4 separate regions of the Homo sapiens genome follow, and all the other regions are linked to region 4. The links are contacts of gene promoters, found by promoter capture Hi-C in blood cells and fetal thymus (Javierre and others, 2016). All regions are on one chromosome and are shown on one strand. Each heading gives the region's core, a stretch centred on a gene start or on the middle of the fragment in contact. The rest is flanking DNA. Distances are from core to core; before and after follow the strand shown.

The links. Contacts are between HindIII fragments. The CHiCAGO score rates a contact against its expected background, and 5 or more counts as called.
Region 1: a fragment that was not itself captured here is called in contact with the fragment with the promoter of MRPS16 in region 4 in 3 of 17 cell types (erythroblasts, M2 macrophages and endothelial precursors); the score reaches 6.2 in erythroblasts.
Region 2: a contact is called between a fragment that was not itself captured here and the fragment with the promoter of MRPS16 in region 4, in 2 of 17 cell types (megakaryocytes and endothelial precursors). The highest score is 5.7, in megakaryocytes.
Region 3: a contact is called between a fragment that was not itself captured here and the fragment with the promoter of MRPS16 in region 4, in 2 of 17 cell types (erythroblasts and megakaryocytes). The highest score is 6.1, in erythroblasts.

Annotation. Positions count from the first base shown.
Region 1 is chr10:73,414,547-73,417,246 of GRCh38, forward strand. No RefSeq gene overlaps it. Among named protein-coding and RNA genes, the nearest start is that of ANXA7, 1.8 kb to the left of the region's middle. The HindIII fragment of the contact is 2,147 bases long and covers 366-2,512 here.
Region 2 is chr10:73,476,514-73,479,371 of GRCh38, forward strand. PPP3CB (protein phosphatase 3 catalytic subunit beta) reads right to left here. Exons shown (of 14, transcript NM_021132.4): 2 at 2,804-2,858; 3 at 1,986-2,110. Among named protein-coding and RNA genes, the nearest start is that of PPP3CB-AS1, 18 kb to the right of the region's middle. RefSeq lists a silencer at 2,144-2,344. The HindIII fragment of the contact is 2,614 bases long and covers 183-2,796 here.
Region 3 is chr10:73,457,254-73,460,118 of GRCh38, forward strand. All of the region lies in intron 9 of PPP3CB (protein phosphatase 3 catalytic subunit beta), which reads right to left. Among named protein-coding and RNA genes, the nearest start is that of MSS51, 25 kb to the left of the region's middle. The HindIII fragment of the contact is 4,585 bases long and covers 1-2,865 here.
Region 4 is chr10:73,251,169-73,254,031 of GRCh38, forward strand. MRPS16 (mitochondrial ribosomal protein S16) reads right to left here and starts at 1,476. Exons shown (of 3, transcript NM_016065.4): 1 at 1,302-1,476; 2 at 595-855. The coding sequence starts at 1,314. It overlaps CFAP70 (cilia and flagella associated protein 70), which reads right to left. Exons shown (of 28, transcript NM_001367801.1): 28 at 2,594-2,863. The coding sequence ends at 2,807. All of the region lies in intron 2 of DNAJC9-AS1 (DNAJC9 and MRPS16 antisense RNA 1), which reads left to right. RefSeq lists enhancers at 1,195-1,762, 1,202-1,491, 1,612-1,871. The HindIII fragment of the contact is 1,832 bases long and covers 600-2,431 here.

The DNA.
Region 1 (2,700 bases), core at 189-2,688, 160 kb after region 4:
TAGGCTCCCCTCGTGGCTACAGCATTGAACACACATTAGCATTAAACATTTGAGGCAATTACGAGGGCTCAGATCAATATTTTAAACTCGTTAAGGAATTTATATTACAGAGAAAACCAATCAGCTACCTTTTAGAGTGGTAAAAGGTAGCTTCTGGGTGTGGTCCCCCGAACAGCAGCATCACCTGGAAACGTGTTAGTAACGCAGATTATTGAACTCCACCTTAGACCTACTGAATCAAACTCCCCGGGTGGTGCCCAGCAACCTGTTTTAACAAGCCTTCCAGGTGGTTCTGATGCACACTAAAGTTTGCACATCTGATGCACATCAACTTACTTATTCCTCTACACACTTTTCTACCCAAAAGCTTCCTCATGGGGGTGGAATAGAGTGGATTACGATTTTAAATGGGAAGAGCAAGCAAAATATACGTGGCTTCCAAATAGGTGTGTGGAGTGAAAAGTATTTGAGGCAGGTCATTGCCTCATTTAACAATGGTAGACAAAATGCACAACTCTCTAGGTGACCAGCATTAATTCCCCGGCGCCCAACAGTCTGTCTACCTGGAAAATAACAGGACTTTCTGTCCTACCTACCCCAGAGACCTCCAGGATTTAAGCCTTCCCTGAGAAGCCTACTCTGTTCATTCTAGAGTTCCCTTTGTGAGCTCGTTCCAAACCCTCCCTCTGCCTTAAATACCACCATAACAGGGTATTTGCCAAACCTCTTATTTCCAGCCCACTTTCCTGAGCTGCAGGAATAGTCCAATAGTCTACTACGACATTTGCCATTTCATCCTTTCAATTCATCCTTTCTTCCTGGCATAAAAGGCGTTACAGGATCGGAGACCCTTTCCTCCTGCTACCTCTGCTTAGAAAGCACTGCTCATCTTTTAACAATTACTCATCTTAATTAGACTTGTTTTCAAGGTTGCTCATCTCCGTCTTGCTCCAATAAACTCTTCCTGATCTTCTTTTTTGTACTCAACTGGACCATTTTAATTTTTTAATTTTTTTGGAGACAGAGTCTTGCTCTGTCACCCAGGCTGGAGTGCTGTGGTGCGATCTAGGCTCACTGCAACCTCTGCCTCCGGGGTTCAAGCGATTCTCATGCCTCAGCCTCCCGTGTAGCTGGGAGGCATGTCACCACGCCCAGCTAATTTTTTTGTATTTTTAGTACAGATGGGGTTTCGCCATGTTGGCCAGGCTGGTCTCGAACTCCTGGCCTCAAGCGATCCACCTGCCTCAGCCTCCCAAAGTGCTGGATGTATTACAGGCATGAGCCACCATACCTGGTCAACATCTCTGAAGGCCATGGTATGTTCCAGAGTTCATGTGAAATAAGAGCCATCATGCTTCTAATGTGAACATCCCACTGTATCAGAGTCTGGTTTTTTTTTGTTTGTTTTTGTAGTTTTGAGACAGGGTCTCATTCTGTTGCCCAGGCTGGAGTGCAATGGCACAATCTCAGCTCATTGCAACCTCTGCTTCCCAGGTTCAACGAATTCTCCTGCCTCAGCCTCCCAAGTAGCTGGGATTACAGGCATCCGCCACCACGCCCAGCTTTTTTTTTTTTTTTTTTTTTTTTTTTTTTTGAGACAGAGTCTCACTCTGTTGCCCAGGCTGGATGGAATGCAGTGGCACGATCTCGGCTCACTGCAAGCTCTGCCTCCTGGGTTCACGCCATTCTCCTGCCTCAGCCTCCCGAGTAGCTGGGACTACAGGTGTCTACCACCACGCCTGGCTAATTTTTTGTATTTTTAGTAGAGACAGGGTTTCACTGTGTTAGCCAGGATGGTCTCGATCTCCTGACCTCATGACCCACCCGCCTCAGCCTCCCAAAGTGCTAGGATTACAGGCATGAGCCACCACGTCCGGCCTAAATTTTTATATTTTTAATACAGACGGTGATTTGCCATGTTGCCCAGGCGAACTCCTGACCTCAGGTGATCCACCCACCTCGGCCTCCCAAAGTGCTGGGATTATTACAGGTGTGAGCCACCACGCCTGGCCCAGAGTCTGGTATTTAAGTTCATATCCTTTTTGTTCCATTAGAATAGTAATTTTGTCCCTCAGGGACACCTGACAATGTGTGGAGACATCTTTGTTTGTCACAACTGAGGGGAGGTGGTGGGGTTACTAGCATCTAGTGGGTGAAAGCCAAGGATTCTAAACAAGGTACGTATCCTACAATGCCTACAGTCCCTACACAAAGAATTATTCAGCCCAAAAAGTCAATAGTGCTGAGGTTAAGAAACCCTGAGTCAGAGTGATCTTTCTAAAGAATAAATTGGGTCATGTAATTCCCGTGATTAAACTTTTTTAATAGCTTCCCACTGGAACCAGAATAAAATAAAATCCAAACTCCTGATGGTCTATTAAGCCCTAGATAATCTGGTCCCTGCCTACATCGCTCATCTAATCCCTTTTCACTTTTTTTTTTTTTTTTTTGAGACGGAGTCTTGCTCTGTCGCCCAGGCTGGAGTGCGGTGGTGCAATCTCAGCTCACTGCAAGCTTCGCCTCCCAGGTTCACACCATTCTCCTGGCTGAACCTCCCAAGTAGCTGGGACTAAAGGTGACTGCCACCACGCCCAGCTAATTTTTTTGTATTTTTAGTAGAGACGGGGTTTCACCATGTTAGCCAGGATGGTCTTGATCTCCTGACCTCGTGATCCACCTGCCTCGGCCTCCCAAAGTGCT
Region 2 (2,858 bases), core at 240-2,739, 230 kb after region 4:
GGCTGAGGCAGGAGAATCTCTTGAACCTGGGAGGCAGAGGTTGCAGTGAGCCGAGATCACGCCACTACACTCCAGCCTGGGCGACAGAGTGAGAGTCCATCTCAATTAAAAAAAAAAAAAAAAAGAGTCAGCTGCAAAACAATCTTACACAAGGACATGCACACCAACTTAGTTACCAAATAAGCTTCATAAAACTGTTTATTTTATTGTTTTGGTCAAATGCCTGAAATTTTTTTGTTAAAATGGGCCATTTTCTGATTTGCCTGAAGCCCTGTGACAATTTGGGAAAAGTTGACGAGGCTAATAATCAACTATCAGCAGGAGGAAGAAGAACTCAAAATAGCAAAATTCCTAAGGGAAGCAGGACAGACAGAGTCTAGAACTTCCTTCCACTCTGAGAATCCTAGCACACCTCAGAAAAAAAGGTATATTGGAAACACTGGAGAAGGAGATATAAACAACAGTAACCAACATAAATTCACCAGGTAAGGTTTCAGTATCTACTAGGGAAGGTGGTTAAAAGCATATGCTGGGAGTCACATTGCCTGGCTATGCTGTTTACTAATAATACCTTGGGCAAGTTACTTAACCTCTCTAAGCCTCAGGTTCCTCATCTATAAAATGAATAAAACAACAGTACTTACCTCATTAATATTATTGTGAGGATTAATCGATATGTCTTCAGTGCCTAGAACATGCTTAGAACATATTAAATGTGCAACACAGGTATCTATTGGTAGAAATTTGACCCCACAATTCTACCTCTAGGAATTTGTCCTACAAAAATAATCAGGCAAGTATGTAAAGATGTATGAATAATATGACTCATTAAAGCATCATTTGTAAAGAAAAAAACTGGGAACATCTTCAGTGTCTAACACAAGGAATTAATTAATTATGGTTTGTTTATTAGATGGAAAACAATGTAGATATTAAAATGATGCTACGAGTTTATATTTACTGACTTGGAAGGATATTTGGTGTAGGCATGTATGAAAAAGCAAGTTACAGACAATATTATAATATGATCCCCTTTTCATTAAAAAAAGAAAAAATGTATATATTGGAAAATACATATTGTTCTACATTTGCTGCATTTTGTTTATATAATTTAAAAAGATGGCAGGGCAATGTGGCTCACATCTGTAATCTCAACACTTTGGGAGTCCAAGGCAGGAGGATCACTTGAGCCCAGGAGTTCAAGACCAGCCTGGGCAACATAGGAAACTCCATTGCTACAAAAAAATTAAAAATTAGTCTAGGCATGGTGGTGTGTACCTGTGGTCCCAGCTATTTGAGAGACTGGGACAGAAGGATCCCTTAAGCTCAAGAGGTCAAGGCTACATTGAGCCATGCTGGTGCCACTGTACTCCAGCATGGGCCACAGAGTAAGACCCTGTCTCAAAAAAAAAGAAAAAGAAAAGAGAAAAAGGAAGAAAAGGAACCATCTACTGTTAAGTGATAATCAAAAGGTCATTTTAATGCCTCAAGTTTTTAAAAACAAATTAATACTTTCCAAATACACAAAGATTCCATAGGATATACTTGAGTCTTAATAGCTACACAAGGAGAAACAGAAGCACTAGGGCTCAAGCAATAAAAAAATCACAATATACTTTATTTAATCAGACAGAATTCAAGTAATCTTTTTTCACATGGTTTAATGCCTTTAGGGGCAAGAGAGATAAATAGCACTAAATTTTTAAGGCCACTAGTTAACAGGGCAATAAAGACCCCTCAGTCAGCTCATAAATTCCACTGGGAAAAAAATGGCAATTATAATTATATAAACAGAGTTATACAAAGAAATTTATTTGAATTGTTTGAAAGACAGAACAGGAATAAATAGTAGCTTTTCATAAAAACTTCAGAATATGCAGAGTTATTAAAAAAACCTAACACAGGTACTTGTGAAAACTAGGATTAAGTGAAAGCATCTGTGTTAACACTTAACAGCAAATCAAATGACAGTTTATGATTATTACCTCTATACTAAAATAACCTCTGTCCACATAATCGCCAAGAAAAAGGTATCGTGTATTAGCAGGTGATCCTCCTACTTCAAAAAGTTTCATCAGATCAAAAAATTGGCCATGGATGTCACCACACACTGAAACAAGAAGATTATTAGATAAGGGAAAAAAATCTCTAAAACAACAAATTTTACTTAAGTTAAAACGTATTTTACATAAGACATAGTACAAATGCTATCAAGAAATGTCTGAGAAGGAAGTAGTCTATGAACAGTCATGATTAGGATGATGTGTAACCAAGTGTTCATGTGCTCAAGATCTAGAAAAAGATGTAACAGAAATAACGAAATTTGTGGTCAGTGACAAACTGAAATCTACATTTATAAAGATCGTCTCTAGGACTCCAAGGATGTGTTTTAAGTTTCAAGATGACAAAATTACAATGGTGGCAGTTAAAATATCCATTCTAACTCAATACTTTCTGTTGCTCTCTAAATGGTCACTTTTGGTATCTGATATGACATCAAGGTATTTGACCCTAACAATTGAAAGCAAAGTAAGTATTGATCAAATTGAAGTATGGTCAACACAATTGATGAAACCTTCACAAAAGCATATTAGACTAACTTCTACACTCAGATTATTTAGAATCATGTCTATTCACTGAAAACAGGCAATCATTTTTAAGTATGGAAAATAATTTGAAATTCAAGATAATGTCCAAGTAATATTGATTTAGCATACAGTATCATTGAAAACAGTAAGTTGTAAATCCAGGCAACTAAATAATGACATAATAAAAATAATACCCAAAACATGAATAAGCTTACCTGTGATTGGAGCTTCTACTTCTATCATGGTTTTCTCTCTCCGAAGGATGGCAGC
Region 3 (2,865 bases), core at 51-2,550, 210 kb after region 4:
AAAAAAGAAAAAAAAAAAAAAAAAAAAAAAAAAAAAAGCTAGTCATGGTAGGACATGCCTGTAGTCCTACCTACTTGGAAGGCCATGCGGTAAGACTGCCTGAGTCCAGGAGTTTGAGATTGCAGTGAGTTACGATTGCACTCCAACATTCTAGCCTAGATGATGGAGTGAAAGCCTAAAGGACATTATCAAGAAAGTGAAAGTCAGCTAGGCCGGGGGTCATGCCTGTAATCCCAGCATTTCAGGAGGCTGAGCAGGTGGATCACTTGAGACCAGAAGTTTGAGATCAGCCTTACCAACATGGTGAAACCCTGTCTCTACTAAAAATACAAAAATTAGCCGGGCATGGTGGCACATGCCTGTAATCCCAGCTACTTGGGAGGGTGAAGCAGGAGAATCGCTTGAATCTGGGAGGTGGAGGTTGCAGTGAGCCAAGATGGTACCACTGCACTCCAGTCTGGGTGACACAGCAAGACCCTGTCTCAAAAAAAAAAAAAAAGAAAGAAAGAAAGAAAGTGAAAGTGGAATGGGAGAAAATTATTTGTAAATCATATACGTAAGGGACTTGCATATAGAATATCTAAAAAACACAACTCAATAATTATCTCCCATGAAACAACTGAGACAGAAAAATACTGCATGTTCTCATAAGTGGAAGCTAAATAATATATGTACATGGAGGTAGAGTGTGGAATGATAGACAAAGGAGACTTGGAAGGGTAGAGAGGTGGGAGAGGTGTGGAAGATGAAATTACTTAATAAGTACAATGTATGCTAGTCTGGTGATAGATACACTAAAAGCCTTGACTTCACCACTATGCAATATATCTATGTAACAAAATTACACTTATACTTCATAAATTTATATAGACAACAAAAAAATGTTTTGTTTTATTTTTTAGAGACGGAGTCTCACTCTGTTGTCCAGGCTGGAGTGCAGTGGTGTGATCTTGGCTCATTGCAACCTCTGTCTCCCAGGTTCAAGCAATTCTCCTGCTTCAGCCTCCTGAGTAGCTGGGATTACAGGCACGCACCACCACACTCAGCTAATTTTTGTATTTTTAGTAGAGACAGGGTTTCACCATGTTGGCCAGGCTGGTCTTGAATTCCTGACCTCAGGTAATCCACCCGCCCCGGCCTCCCAAAATGCTGGGATTACAGGTGTGAGCCACCGCACCTGGCAAAAAAATTTTTTAATAAAGAAAATTTTAAGACAAATAACCCAATTATAAAATAAGCAAAGGATTTGAAAATATATTCATCCTCGGCTGGGTGTGGTAGCTCATGCCTGTCACCCTAGCACCCTGGGAGGCCAAAGCGGGTAGACTGCTTGAGCTCAGGAGTTACCAGCCTGGGCAACATGGCGAAACCCTGTCTCTATATTAAAATATACATGTATTTTCTATATTAAAATATATTTTACATATGTAAAGTATATGTTTATATATTAAAATGTATATTTATTAAAATATATATATTTTTTCATCCAAAGAATATATACACTGCTGATGAAACTGTAAAATGGTACAGCTAAGGCCGGGCGCAGTGGCTCATGCCTGTAATCCCAGCACTTTGGGAGGATGAAGTGGGACAATCACCTGAGGTCAAGAGTTTGAGACCAGCCTGACCAACATGGAGAAACCCCGTCACTACTAAAAAATACAAAATTAGCCGGGCGTGGTGGTGCGTGCCTGTAATCCCAGCTACTCAGGAGGCTGAGGCAGGAGAATCACTTGAACCCAGGAGGCAGAGGTTGCGGTGAGCCGAGATCGCACCATTGCACCCTAGCATGGGCAACAAGAGCAAAACTCTGTCTCAAAAACAACAACAACAATAAAATGGTACAGCTGTTTTGGAAAACAGTTTGGCAGATCCTTAAAAGGTTAATCATAGAGTTACAATATGACCCAGCAATTTCACTCCCAGGTCTATACTCAAGAAAATGAAAACATAGGCCGGGCATGGTGGCTCACGCCTGTAATCCCAGCACTTTGGGAGGCCGAGGCGGGTGGATCAGGAGGTCAGGAGATTGAGATCATCCTGGCTACACAGTGAAACCCTGTCTCTACTAAAAATATAAAAATTAGCTGGGCATGGTGGCGGGCACCTGTAGTCCCAGCTACTCAGGAGGCTGAGGCAGGAGAATGGCGTGAACCCAGGAGACGGAGCTTGCAGTGAGCCAAGATCGCGCCACTGCGCTCCAGCCTGGGCGACAGAGCAAGATTCTGTCTCAAAAAGAAAATGAAAACATAAAACTTGCACATGCATATTCTTCGCAGCATTATTAGTAAGTCCAAGAGTAGAAATAAATGTCTATCAGCTGATGAATAAAACAAACAAAATGTGCTATATCCATACAATAGACTACTATTCCATCATAAAAAGGAATGTTGTACTGCTTCATGCTACACCACAGATAAACCTTGAGACCATGGAAAGAATCCAGTCACAAAAGAGCACACACTGTGTGATTCCATTTATATGAACTGTCCAGAATAGGTGAATCTATGGGGACAGCAGATTGGTGGTTACCTAGGGTTAGCAAGGGGGGTTAGGGGAAAATGAAGAGTGACTGCTAATGGGCACAGGGTTTCTTTGGAGGGGATGATGAAAATGTTCCAAAACTGTGGTAATGATTGCACAACTCTGTAGTATATAAAAAACATGGAATTGTACAATTTAAATAGGTCAACTTTATGGTATGTGAATTACATGTCAATAAAGCAGTTATAAAAAATAAAGAAAAGTATGAGGGTATAAAACTTAAAGAGCATAACACGTTCAGAAAACTGGCTTTGCTGTGTTATGGCTAGAACGAAGATAACGTGAAAGAGAAAGGCAGGAAATGAGGCTGAAGAGAAAGTA
Region 4 (2,863 bases), core at 226-2,725:
TCCCTAACAATATTCCCCTTACTTTAAAAAACGTAAACTGACAGATGGCCATTCAAAACATACTATTCCTATTTTTAGCATAAAATACCAGTCACCCAAAGTCTTACAAAGGAGTCCACAAAAGGGGCCTCCAGATTCAAAATGCCAATTAGATCACAACTTCAGCTCCCACTTCAGTCCTGAACAGCCTAGAGGGAATGAAATAACTCTTTTTTTTTTTTCTTTGAGATGGAATCGCCCTCTGTTGCCCAGACTGGAGTGCAGTGACGCGATCTTGGCTCACTGCAACCTCCGCCTCCTGGGTTCAAGCGATTCTCCTGCCTCAGCCTCCCCAGTAGCTGAGACTACAGGTGCGTGTCACCACGCCCAACTAATTTTTTTTTTTTATTTTTAGTAGAGACAGCGTTTCACCATGTTGGCCACTCTGGTCTCAAACTCTTGACCTCAGGTGATCCGCCCGCCTCGGCCTCCCAAAGCGCTGAGATTACAGGCGTGAGCCACCGTGCCCAGCCGAAAATCATTCTTACACCTACTGTCCTGGAGCTGACTTCAGTTTAAAATCCCCTCAATAAGGTAAGACCAGAGCTGAGTTACCCAGAAGCTTTTCCATAGGCTTAGAGAGGTGGGCCCCGCAGCCAATCCAATGACGGATCCTGTCTAGGTTGAGGGCAACGAGTTTTTCTCCATGACTGTTGGGCAATGGATCATAGGAGCCCAGCTGCTCTACGAAACGGCCATCCCTGGGACACTTGTTGTGAGCAGCCACAATGCGGTAGAACGGCCGATTGGTGCAGCCACCCAGGGCAAGGCGGATGGTTAAGTGGCCCCCACGGTAGGCCTTGCAGAGGAGAGTAGCTGTAGAAAAGCAGCTGGTTAGGACACAAAAAACAGCACAAAAAGGACAAAATGACACAGACGGCACAATTCCCTTTTCCCACTGAAATGTCTCACTTCCAATCCATTCCTGTCAATCCAGTTTAGATGCTACTCTTCTTTGTGAAACCCCTCTTGGCCAGTCCAGCCAGCAATGACCTCCTCCTCATACCCAAACCCACCCCGCATGGGCTTGCCATTCACTAGGCTCTGTGACCTTGTCGGAGCCTTAGCTGCTTCAATGGGGTGGAAATTTTTCAGCGGTGATTAAGTGGGGAAAAAACTGAGAGAAGGATCAAATGTAAGGCAGTGTGGCTGCTTCAGGTTCGGGTTGCCTCCATCGCGCCTGGGAGAGCTCTCCCCACCCGGCCCCGAACTCCCGAGCCCCGTGACCGCCCGGAACGTCTCGCGGTGGCCCGATGACTCACTGAGGTGGACCATGGTGCCGCCGGCGTGCGGCTCCTCGGAGAGCCCCGCTACCCGCACGCACCAGCTCTACGGCCTTGGCAGGGCAGAGAACAAACACAGAAAGAACCTGCAAGCCGACACCAGGCCGCACCGCCAAGCGGTACAAGCCCGAAAACCTCGACTCCGGAAGCGGATGATCCGCTCGCCACGCCTCCTCCGCTTGCCGCCCTATACTTCCCACAATGCAACACGGTGACCCCTAACGTACCTTAAACTGCTGCAAAAGAGGCGTTTCTCGTGGTGTCTTGTGGGAGTGGCGGTGCGATCCCTCTCAGACTTGTGAGTCCCTGCTGGAGTCAGAAGTTTTAGGCGAATCCCAGGCGCGCCAAGGAAAGTGCTACAAAAGCCATCCATCTTGCAAGCGTTGGTGCCGAGGCGCAACGCTGAGAACGCAAATACTAAAGGGCGCTGTTCTTTCCTCGTGGAGCTCACAGTCCGCTGGGGAGACCGTGAGATGACAGCAGAGAAACTAGCGCGATCAGTAGTACTCAGCGCAAGGACAGCGAGCAGAGAAGGCAAACCTAGTGCTTGCTAAGGAAGACTTCACAGAGGAGGTAGTGTCAGGGCCGAGACTAGGAGAAGGATTGTAAGTGACTAGATTTTACTTTATCCTTCTCGTTAACCAAAATTAATTTACCTCTCACCTTTTCTCCTGTTGTCGTCCCACCCCTATCGAGGCAGTCACACCTTAAAAAAAAAAGGAGGGGTTATTCCTGCTTTTGCCGTGCTGTGATCCAGGGCAGAGGTGAAGTATGATTTTTTTTTTTTTTATCTGTAGCCCTAGAATATGACCTCGGTGATGAGGGTAACGGTGTCTCCTTGGAGCCCTAGTGGTTTAGATCCATGAAGATGCCTGTGTTTGGTGAGAAGGTGTCAATAGCTCCACCTTCAGCAAAGACCTCTCTGTTCAGCTTTTTCGTTTACTGTTAGTTCCAAAGGGCTAGCATGCTCTTTGCCCTAATACAGTGACCCAGCATAGCAGTCTTCCTCCAGGGCCACCTTTGAAAATGATGCCTTAATTCCTGTATTTCAGTTAACTGAACCTGTCCAGAAACCTTAGCACCTGACTTCCTCCAGGAGTGATCCAATAAGCTTTCATCAGAAACCCTAATAATGACCCCACTATACCTTAATTTTATTGTATGTATATATATGCCATATAATTATTATAGCAATTACACTATAGTTATTTATATAACTAAATACCTACATGTAACTCAGTATACGTTAACTCCAGAACCATGCTGATGAATTTTGAGTTTCATATCTCCATTTTTTTATTGTGACCCAGTTTCTCGTCAACCAGTAAAACATCCAGTAACACAGCCAATGGAAATAAATGAATGGGTCTCTGTTTATAGTGAAGATTCTTTCGTTCTCCAGCTCCAGGCTTCATACGGTAAAACTCTCTGGGAAGGAAAGGAACTCAGAGTCCCATGCAGAAAATTGTTCAGCTGGAGGGGTATCAGAAAGATGGATTTCCAAAGCCAACTGTTTCCTGTAGTGTGTGGATCTCTGCAAG